Regions from separate parts of the Homo sapiens genome. Here region 1 is linked to region 2. Evidence: promoter capture Hi-C in human tissues and cell types (Jung and others, 2019). All regions are on one chromosome and are shown on one strand. Each heading gives the region's core, a stretch centred on a gene start or on the middle of the fragment in contact. The rest is flanking DNA. Distances are from core to core; before and after follow the strand shown.

Region 1 (5,790 bases), core at 1,742-4,241, 44 kb before region 2:
TGCTTTTTGAGTTTTGGACGACTGAGTCTGATGCTGCCTAGGGAGGACTGGGCTGTTCTCATGACCATCCGCTCACGCTGTTGGATTCGTGCATCTCTGGGTTAGTCGTCATGTTCCTATTAATTTGCCTCTAGTAGTTCCTCATTAGAACATTTTATGATATATAAAGATTGGGGGTTTGGGGTTTTTTTTTTTGAGACAGGGTCTTGCCATGTTGCTCAGGCTGGAGACTGGGGAGTTTTGACTGAAAGTATCTGATGACCTTGTCAGTGGCTGTTGGTTGTCACGAATTGCTTAAAAATACATAAATCTTCATAATAAAGCTATTCTGATTCTTCATTTAAAACATCCTGGTATAGTTTGTATAATTAGTTGTAATAAGATTTTAAAGATCCTGTAATCCCAGCTACTTAGAAGGCTGAGACAGGAGGATCACTTTAGCCCAGTAGTTCAAGACCAGCCTGGGCAACATACTGAGACCCCCATCTCATTTAAAAAGAAAAAAAAAATCTTTAAATGTACCTGTGTAGTTTTATGAGGTACTTCTAAACAATGTAATGTTAATACATATTCTTTTATTTGCTTCAAACTAGGATGAAATACAGGGAGAACATGGTTCCTTTTAGGATTCTGATAATTAGGGTTTTATTTTCTAAACTAGAGTTTCTAGTTGGAGTGGAAGTCCTGAGTTCCCTTTGCCTCTCTGTGGCCTTGCCGTTTTGCCGAAAACCTCCCATCTCCCTAGTCACCCTTGGTCTCTAAAAGGGCTCTTTTGAGGAGAACTCTTATTCTCTAGTCAGCGGGTCTAGCTTATCCTTTGTACTCGAAGGACTTCGTTTATTTTTCCTCTGGTTGACTTCATGTGTTGAAAATTTTGGCCTATCAAACTACGTGTATTAAACAATAGTTTTTCCCATTCTTATTCCTCAAAATCATGAGTTATGAGTCTAAGCTTTTAATCAACATGAATTGATAATCAATGCAGCTGAAACTCAGTTGGTTCTTTGGGCCGCCTTCGCCGCCTGCGCTGCCTTCACCTGAGTGCTCTACGTGGGGCTGTGCTGTTTGCAGTGGAGCTGGTGCTCCTCTCCTGAGGTACAGAGTGTCTGCCTCTGTGCAGAGGTGGCAGCCTCAGCCGTATTCGGATCTCACCAGAAACTGGAAGCAGCCCACATACCCCTCAGTTGGGGAAAGGATAAACCATGAGACGCCGTCTAAGGGATACTTACTACTTGGCATCACGAGGGGCAAACTCCCAAGGCCCCAAGAGCATGGTGACTCTCGAGTGTATTCTGCCGTGCAGGAAGCCACCTTGCCCTGAATCTGTGTGACAGAGGCAGAGTCAAAACTAGAGGGACAGAAGCAGATTAGCAGTGGCCCACGGCAAGGGTGGCTCACGGCCCCAGGTTCTCACGGGTGATGGAGAGTTCTGTTTCGGCATTGCCGGTGGTGACCTGACCATATGGGCTTATCCACACTCAGGACTCTACACTACAAAGGATAGGTTTTACTGTGTGTGAGCTCTAACTCAAGTTTTACAAACGACGGCAGGCACCGTGGCTCATGCCTGTAATCCCAGCACTTTGGGAGGCCAAGGTGGGTGGAACACCTGAGGTCAGGAGTTCGAGAGCAGCCTGGCCAACATGGCAAAACCCCATCTCTACTAAAAACACAAAAATTAGCTGGGGGTGGTGGTGGCACCTGTAATCCAGCTACTCGGGAGGCTGAGGTACAAGAATCACTTGAACCGGAGAGATGGAGGTTGTAGTGAGCTGAAGTCATGCCACTGCACTCCAGCCTGGGTGACAGAGCAAGACTGTCTCAAAAAAAAAAGTAAGAAAATGTGAAGTCATCGCCATAGCAGGAACCAGCTCTAAGGGCACACACGATTGAGTCAGTTTATTGTCAGCCGGGCACAGCTGTCGACTTTTGCAGCGACGGGGGACCCCCTAGATGGTCTTGTCTCCTCTGACATTTTGCCACATTGTAGGAGAACCTGAGGACCAGAGAGGTTGTGACAGGGCTGGGCCCCTAGCTGGTGTCTGCCGCTGCCTCCACCTCCTTTACGTGGCTCGCCTCTAACCAGACCCTTCCAGGCGGGAAGATGTTCCCCTGAAAGGTATCAGCCATTAAACTTTGGAAGTCGAGTGATGTTCCAGTCATTGCTGTTCTGTTTTCTAGGCTTGGACTTAAGGATCAGCAGGAGAGAGAAATCATTCACGTTCTCATGGATTGCTGCCTTCAAGAGAAAACTTACAATCCCTTCTATGCTTTCCTGGCTAGCAAATTCTGTGAATATGAAAGGAGATTTCAGGTAGCTTAGTGCGGAGGCACCAGTTACGTCCGCTCTACTATTTTTTCTACACAGGCTACCTGGCTCAACCCACCTGCAAAGGAGTTCCCCAAGTCAGGAGGCCCCTGATATCCCCGTCACCTGGTCCACGCTGGCTGCCAGGCCACCTTCACTGGGAGCGGAAGTGGGAGGGCTAGAGGGGAGTGTCAAGGGTCCACCATGTCCTCATGTCACCTGCTTCTGCCACAGATGCAGGCAGTGTGGCCAGGCCAGCAGGAGCACCTCGTCGGTTCACAGTGCACCAGTCTGTTCTGATGCCCCTTGCTGTGGCCTTTTCCTTAGAATGTTCTGTTAGTATCTGCTGATTTGGGGGGAAGAACTGCACCAGAAGGAGATTCTTGTGAAGCTGTTTGGGACTATGCTCTATAGGCAAGAACAGTGAGGCCACCACTAAAAGTCTTGATGTTTAGAATATTAAAAATAAGATAATAAGAAAATACCTTTAGGTTATGTTGTTAGTGATATATTATAGTAATTTGTGGCCGTTTGCCTTTTTTCTCCTTTTAACTATGATACTAGATGACTTTCCAGTTCAGCATATGGGACAAATTTCGGGACTTGGAAAACTTGCCAGCTACGAATTTCTCTAATTTGGTTCATCTGGTGGCCCACTTGTTGAAGACAAAATCGCTTTCCCTTTCCATCTTAAAGGTTCGTGTAACGTGTGAAAATATTGAAAGCAATGGAAATGGGAGTGTAATTGTTTAGTACCTGGTAAATCAGGTCCTGTTTTACCAGCGTATTTTCTTCGATTCTGATTCATCTGAAAAGTGCTTGCATTATCCTAGCCAGGACAGAAAACGGCCAGACTAACATGTGCTACAAATTGATCTGGTAAATGAAGGCACCGCTGCAGTTCTTTTGCTAATCTGAATGAATGTGTTTTGGAGCTTGAGGTTAATTTGCTGGTCCTAATTATAAAATCCTGAACTGGTCACTGTTAGTGAGGAGAAGGGCGGATGAAGTAGGGCCTGGTCTCCTTAGAGGTGAGGTGAGTTTGCTCACGTTGATGTAAGGTGTTTTAAAACTGTAGGCTTTCTCCTGCCCTGCTGTGTTTTGGGACTTTGCAGTGGACCATGAAACACAGACATCTTTTTTCTTCCCCCCCCAAGATGGGAGTTGCTCTGTCACCCAGGCTGGAGTGCAGTGGTGCAATCTCTGCAACCTCTGCCTCCGGGATTCAAGCGATTCTCCTGCCTCAGCCTCCCAAGTGGCTGGGATTACAGGCTCATGCCACCACGCCCAGCTAATTTTTGTATTTTTAATAGAGACGGGATTTCACCATGTTGGCCAAGCTGGTCTGGAACCCCTGACCTTGTGATCTGCCCTCCTCAGCCTCCCAAAGTGCTAATATTACAGGTGTGAGCCAGTGCGCCCAGCTGAAACCTAGACATCTTACCAGGTGGAGTTGGGGTTAGATGTGGGCCTGTAAGGCTTGGATGGTGGGACCAACAGACTCTGAATAGCCAAAAAAAAAAACTGGAGCGCCTGGGGGGCAAAGGGAAGTGAAAAGCAGAGATAGTTGAGGGGCGTTGACTGCAGTGGCCCAGACCCACAAGACAGCCGCAGCCACAGCTTCCCGTGTGTTTCTGTGTGTCGTGTGCAGTTCATCAGCATGCCGGCTCCAGTTCACCCTGCGTCCCTTGCTGTGTGGTGTCCAAGTTTGGCCACTGTACTGAAAATGAGGGCACCGAGCCTTACGCCAAATCCTGACAACTGGAATAACTTAGCTCATGGAGGAGGCGTTGCTCCCCCTCCGCTCCCCTGCCTTGCCTTTCGCTCGCCCAGGCATTGCGCTCATCCTGGAACAGCACAGATGCTACCACCGATGAGCGGGAGAGGCGTGGCAGGAGCACACCCTCAGGCGTAGAGCTTTAGAGATGCCCCCCGCCCTGCCCCTCCGGGCTGCTCTCATTCCGAGTTTCTCTGTGTTTCGACCATGCTTTTGTGGTCTCGCCGCGTCCTCGGGTCCGCAAGCGCCTGTGATGGTGTTTGGCTGCGCACCTCCCTGTGGGTAGCATTCCCGTCACCATGCGTTTAGTCCCCTCCTCTAGCTCGCTGACATTCAGCTAAGATTGCAGTGGGTCCACGTTGGCGCCCGTGAGTCTGTTCTGGGTAGCATCCTACTGTATACGTATGCCTCAGTTTATATACTTACTTATCCTACTGATCCGTGTTTATTTCTGATTTTTTGATAGTTTTCTAGGGCAGAGATATATATGGATTAGTCTTCTAGAAGTAAATTTTATATATATATATATATATATATATATATATATATATATATATATAGTTTTAATTAGGGGATGGGTACTTTTGGGAATGGAGGTAATTTATGGTTCAGTTCTAGATACTGAATTTCTGATTCATAAGGTGTATGACCCGGGAATTCCACTTACACTGCTGAGTTGTTCTCAACGGTGGCTGTGGCCGGCCACACCTCTGCCAGCAGTGTGTAGGAATTCCCAAGGCCCACATCCTTGCCAACAGGTGTTCATTTCTTAGCTCTGGAAATAGCTTCTTAAATCGGGTAGAGTGGGGGAAGGGGGGAGATTAATTTTTACTCTAATTAACTATATTACAAATCATTGAAAAAGTTGGCTAAATCAGTGTAACTTTATTTTTCTCCATGTCCTGACCATTAGGTAGTTGAATTCAGTGAATTGGACAAACCCAGAGTCCGTTTTTTACGAAAAGTATTAAGTATCCTATTAATGGAAACAGAAGTTGAAGACCTCAGTTTAATTTTCACAAGGTATGTGCCCCACCCTTTCCGACGAGACATGGAAGAGAAATGAAGAGATTGTTTTCACTTGTGTTGATTTACAAACACAAGGTTGTACTATACGTGTAGCTTAATCTTTTCGGTTTTATTTTTAAGCTGGTATGCATTAGATCTGGGGAATAGAAACTTGTCTGCTAGCAAACTAACAATGATTGTTAATAATAAAATATGTTAAGAAGTTCTTAATTGAGAATTTTATTTTTAAAAGAAACTGGTTATGTCTCACTATGCGAGATACCCAGGATTGAGATCTAGGAGAGGCCAGCTCAGCCCTGACATGTGTTTATACGATTCCTTTCCAGAGTATCTGACAACCCAAAGCTGGGGGTGTTACGTGAGGGTTTGAAGCTTTTCATCAGCCACTTCTTGCTAAAGAACGCACAGGCCCACAGAAGCGCCGACGAAGCCAACGTGCTGAGAGAGAAAGCTGACCTTGCAACGAAGTGTCTGCAAGGAAAAGCTTCCCTGAGAATGTAGTCAGGGAAGGAAGGAGGGCAGGTGGCCCTTTGACTGTAAAATGTCCTTGGTAAACCCAAAGGCTTATTCTGTTGCCTGCGTGTGAATGTTTGGTAGAGCTATATCATTGTCTGTTAATGTATTATATTTTGAGATTTTTTTTGATCTAAGGTTTTATTGTTTGTATTTCAAGCCA
Region 2 (5,121 bases), core at 81-2,580:
GCTCTCGGCTCGCCTTCCCCCGGCGACTTCCTTCTCCTGCAGCCTTCGGGTTAATCATTAGATCTCAGTCTCACACCTCCAACTGCCCCTTCCCGTTAAGAGAGGAAGAGAAGGCAAGGCCTGCGCATGGCCATTTTAATAATTCGCTGCCCGTCTCATGCCTGGGGGTCCGGGCGAGTCCTCGCAGGCCCCGGGCAGAGCCGAGGCGGCTTCGCAGCTCTTCCCCCGCTCGCTGGGAGCCAAGCGCAGAGAGGGGCAGGCGGTGCCGGTGGAGGATGCGCGAGGCCCTCCCGCCACGCGCATCCACGGGGGCCGCAGGGTACTCACAGTTGAAGTCGGGCATCTTAGGCAGGATCATGCCCGCGGTGGACGCGCGCAGCCACTGGTCCAGCTGGAAGGTGCCGGCGCCCAGCTTGATGGGGTCGGCGGGGTGCGCGGGGTGCGCGCCTTGCACCTGCGGGTACGAGTAGGAGAGCGCCGGGTGCTGGCCCGCCAGCGCAGCCGCCGCCGCCGCCGCGGAGTAGCCGTAGACCGGGTGGCCGTAGAGCGCCGCCTGCGCCGGGAGGCCCGCGCCGCCCTGCGCGCCCCCAGGGTGCAGCCCCAGCGCCAGGCCCCCAGCGGCGGCGGCGGCGGCGGCGGCGGCGGCAGCGGCCGCTGCGCCCGGATGCGCGTGGTGGTGGGGCCCCCCGTGCCCGCCGCCCGTGCCGCCGCCGCCGCCGCCCGCGCCCAGGAAGCCCGGCTTGGGCAGCAGCGCGCAGTGCGCGGCCAGCAGGCGCGGCGGCGACGGGCTCTCGGCGCGCAGGCGGTCGGCGGGCGCAGCCGGCGGCTCCGAGGACGCGGGGCTGCAGCTGCCGCTAGTCCCGCCGCTCGCCCCGCCGCCGCCGCCGCCACCTCCGGTGCCAGATGCGGCGGCGGCGAGCGACGTGACCAAGGCCAGCGGCGCGCTCTGCGCAGAGGCGGCTCGTGGGGGGTCCACCGCCAGCAGGGCGTCGATGCGGAAATTTTTGGATTTTTCCATCGGCTCGTTTGGGGCTGGCGCTCAGGGCCCGGTGGCGGGCGACGCGGCCGTGTGCGGGCTCGCGGAGTCAGTGCGTGCGGTGCAAGCCCGGGGGCTCGGTATTGTTATGGTGGTTATTTGCCAATAATCAAAGTCGCCGCCGGAAACTCAGCCGAGGGTGACCATGGTCCCGGCGCCTCCTCCGTGCGGGCCCCGCCCCGGGCCGCGCTCGCACAAACTCCCACGCGAGTGCTTCCCCGCGTCCGGGCCCGGGAGCCCGGTTCTTTGCGCTGCAGCCCTCAGGCGACCGCGCGGAGGCCGCTGCCGCCGTGGTGGGGACCCGCGCCCCTCCGCGCACTTGAAGCTCAGCGCGGCTTCCGATTGGCGCGCGCAGCGGGGGCCCGGGGAGGGCCGCGGGCTCCGCCATTGGCCGAGGGGCGCACCTGTCACCGTCCCGGCCGCCCGCCGCCCCGCCCCCGCGCCGCGAGGTCCTAAGCAGCCCGGGCTGTTGCGCGGCGCTGGCGGGCGGGGACACCAACGGGGAGTGGATACTCCGAGGCTCAACCTGGGGCCTCTGCCCGCCCTCCCCTGGGTGCGGAGCCGGACGGCGGGCACTGGCAACCCCCGGGCCCCTGGAGAGCCCCGCGGCGGCCCAAGACCCGCTCCCGAGACACGTGGGCCCCTCCGGACTTGGTTGGTCCCTGGAGCCAGCTGCGCGCGTCCTCTCCGGCCTCCTTGTCGGCGCTGGAGTGGGTCCACGTCTGCCTTGCGGAGCGCGGTGGTTCCACGCTCCTGAGCGCCCACGCTGCGCAGACCTGGCCGCTCTGCGAGGCGACGGCAGCGCACTGAAGACCGTGGTGTTTCCCAAGCCCTCCCTGCTCTCGGGCCTCCAGGGCGCAGCAGGGGAGGGTTTTGTCCCCGTGGCCAAAGCTCTGCAGGTCGAACCTTATCTGCTATGGGAAGGCCCCGCATTTTCAGGTGTGTGTGCGGGGGTGTGGGGGTGTAAACGCGCATGTGAGTGTGAGTTTGGCCTCCACGAATCCTCTCTGGGAGCCCCTGCCCCAGTCAAGGCGGAGACGGTAGATCTGGGCGCTCTGGCCTGCAGAACCCAAGTCGGCTTGCAGACGTCGCCCACGTGCCTGCTCAGTGGAGCGGGTCCTCGGTGACAAGGCTCTTCCTCGCTGCCGAGGGATGCCCATGGGCTTGCGGGAGTCAAGGCCCACACACCTCGGCCCTGAAAAACCCGTGGGGCCCGGCATCCTTCGGAAGCCCTGCCGCTGCGACCCCCGGCCAGTCCCCGGGCAGGAGCGGGGAAAGGCTATGTCTCTCGTGCTGCCGGGGCCTCCTGGGAAGTGGAGAGGAAAGGGCTTCCCGTGAGTGAGCGAGGCACGGAGTGAGCATCCAGGTCTCACCCCTCCCCCACACGCACACTTCAAATATTTACAGTAAAACCACTTCCAAGGGCGTTTTTGAAGCTGAAAGAATCCACACAGGGGTCGGGAAGTCAAGCGGCATCAACACCAGGCTTTGTCAATAGCGCCATTAGACCCAGTTATCTTCCCCAGCAAGCGTGAGAACTGGGAGGGAGTTCCAGGTTCCAGGGCTTGCTATGCAGGTGAGAGGTGAATAAAGGACCGGAAGGGGCTGTGGAGAGGGGAGAGAGCCAAAGAGAAACTCAGTGCCAGGTAAACTTCAAAATTAGCACGCCAGGTTGCTACAAGAGGGATTTTTAAAAAGGCAAATATAGAGACCTTGCCACTTCTCCTCAAAAGGCTTTTGACCTAGGCGAGAGTTGATGACAGTGACTCTGTTGCCATGAGTGGTATCGTTTTCATTATAACACAGGGTAGTTCCCAGATGCACAGGACTGGTTGGAAGGTTAGGAGGATGGCAATGGATGAGTAACTGCAACTTGGAGTAAATGTGATCTGGCTTTGCAGAGCCGACCACTGGTAAAAAGAAATCCCAGGCATTCACATGGAGTTTGTCGTGCCTTTAGATGTCTTTGTGGTGACACAAATGCAGTTCTACCTCTCACTGGAGAGAGGGAAACACGCGCATTTCTTGAACACCTACTATGTGCTATGAGCTTTCTGCAATTCTCATCCGTAATCTTCACTATGACACTAGAAGGAAGATTTTTATCATCTCCGTATCTCCATTTTCTTTTCTTTCTTTTTTTTTTTTGTATTTTTGGTAGAGACGGGGTTTCACCGTGTTAGCGAGGATGGTCTTGATCGCCTGACCTCCTGATCCGCGCGCCTCGGCCTCCCAAAGTGCTGGGATTACAGGAGTCAGCCACCGCGCCAGGCGCCCCCCACTTTTTTTTTTTTTTTTTGAGATGGAGTTTTGTTCTTGTTGCCCGGGCTGGAGTGCAATGCCATGATCATGGCTCACTGCAACCTCCATCTCCCAGGTTCAAGCGATTCTTCTGCCTCAGCCTCCCCAATAGCTGAGATTACAGGCATGTGCCACCAGGCCAGGCTAATTTTTGTGTTTTTAGTAGAGATGGGGTTTCACCATGTTGGTCAGGCTGGTCTCGAACTCCCGACCTCAGGTGATCCACCCACTTCAGCCTCCCAAAGTGCTGGGATTACAGGCATGAGCGACCGTGCCCGGGCTATCATCTCCATTTTCTAGAGTACAAGTTCAGAGAGTTTGGGATCCTTGTTCCCAGCAGACAGTTTGGCCTTAGAGCTGGGAGTGGGACCAGGTCTGATTGCAGAGGCCACACTGTTCCCACCCTGCTGCCCTCAAAGCTTTCAGGTACACCTAGCCCTGAGTCCCCATCCCATCTGTTTCTTTTTGGGGAGGGAAGGATTGTAAAGGAGACCAGAGATTCTTAGCCACCTGTCCCAGGCAGGAAGCCCTAGCTGTGACTCTGCCTCCCCAGGGTAGAGAACACAGCCTTGGCCTCCTCCTCCAGGGGTTTGGCACCAAGGCTGACTTGCCTTTCTCTTCTCATCACCCCCATCTGCTGGGGGCAGATTGCTTGGTCCTGAGGTCAATGATTTAGGGAGCTGGGGGAAGGGAGTGGCTGCAGAAGAAATCTCCCAGGATGGACCTTGGAGAAGATGCTGTTCCTCTCTCCAACCAAAAATACACACTGCCAGGGTGATTTTAGTTGGTGATGGGGTGTGTAGTCTAGACTCATGACATCAGCCATCTCCTTCAACAAAATCACAGTGGGTGTTTTCTGGCTTTTTTTTTTAACTCCTAGAGGAATTAATTTCACCCCTTTTTGTTCTGTAATAACCATGGTCCAAAACCCCTTCACACCCTGTCTCATGTTTCTATTCTGCCTGAGACCTGCTGAGGACACCTCCCTGAAAACACAGACAGGACAACACGTGTGCAGGTCCTTCAGGTGTCTGTACCACCTGTGGGGCTGTGCAAGGCTGTCCGAGGAGGCCTAGCCTAGCAGCCCTGCGTCCTGTCCGGACCGCCCCTCTGGCTGAGGTGCCATTTCAGGAATCTGAAGCTCCTTATCTCGATGGATTTGTTTCTTTGTCTACAGAAGCAGGGGTTGGACCAAATGGACTCTAAGGAGCTATAGGGCCTTAAAATGATCAGATGTTCTGCTTATATTTAAGAATATGTTAATATAAAAAGGAGGTTCTCTGTAAAGCTGCATGGAGAGAGGCAGGTGTGGGGGAGAGAGGGAGCTATCTGGGAAGTGTGGATCTTTGTGTGGTTTACAATGTGTGAGGCGGAGCCTGCTGGGTCTCTTCCTGTTCCCAGTATCTGTATTGATCCAGCCCAGCTGGCTTTGGGGCAGTCTGGAGCTGGGCTTGGGTCTTGGGAAGGGCCACAAAGAGAGATCAAAGGTCTGATCCTAGTAGTGCTACCAAACCTGAGTCTCCAGGTGAGTTTTCTCTCCAGCGGCCCCAGGGGCAGAACTCAGCCCTGGAGAGTTCTCCCTGGAGCTCTTGGTTTCTCAAGACAGGCAGAGAGGGCCTGGTGCACCCTAATCAGCTGGCCCCCACCACAGCTCCTCCCTGCCCAGCGCGGGAGCCTGCTTTCTACAGGCCTCCTGTTAAGGAACTGAAGAGTGCCTGCAGCTGCCCTTCCTTCCACTACTTGGGAAGGAGATGGTGATTTCTACAAACCATCACAAAAGAAAA

What was found. Contacts are between HindIII fragments. The study calls those that stand out against the background at their distance.
Region 1: a contact is called between a fragment that was not itself captured here and the fragment with the promoter of MNX1 in region 2, in 1 of the 25 tissues and cell types used here (adrenal gland).

The regions. Positions count from the first base shown.
Region 1 is chr7:156,964,089-156,969,878 of GRCh38, forward strand. It overlaps NOM1 (nucleolar protein with MIF4G domain 1), which reads left to right. Exons shown (of 11, transcript NM_138400.2): 8 at 2,182-2,314; 9 at 2,873-3,004; 10 at 4,999-5,108; 11 at 5,441-5,790. The coding sequence ends at 5,615. Among named protein-coding and RNA genes, the nearest start is that of NOM1, 17 kb to the left of the region's middle. RefSeq lists a silencer at 4,242-4,433. The HindIII fragment of the contact is 5,101 bases long and covers 442-5,542 here.
Region 2 is chr7:157,009,333-157,014,453 of GRCh38, forward strand. It overlaps MNX1 (motor neuron and pancreas homeobox 1), which reads right to left and starts at 1,331. Exons shown (of 3, transcript NM_005515.4): 1 at 328-1,331. The coding sequence starts at 1,018. It overlaps MNX1-AS1 (MNX1 antisense RNA 1 (head to head)), which reads left to right and starts at 1,525. Exons shown (of 2, transcript NR_038835.1): 1 at 1,525-1,975. RefSeq lists silencers at 493-542, 553-622, 1,133-1,742. The HindIII fragment of the contact is 12,613 bases long and covers 1-5,074 here.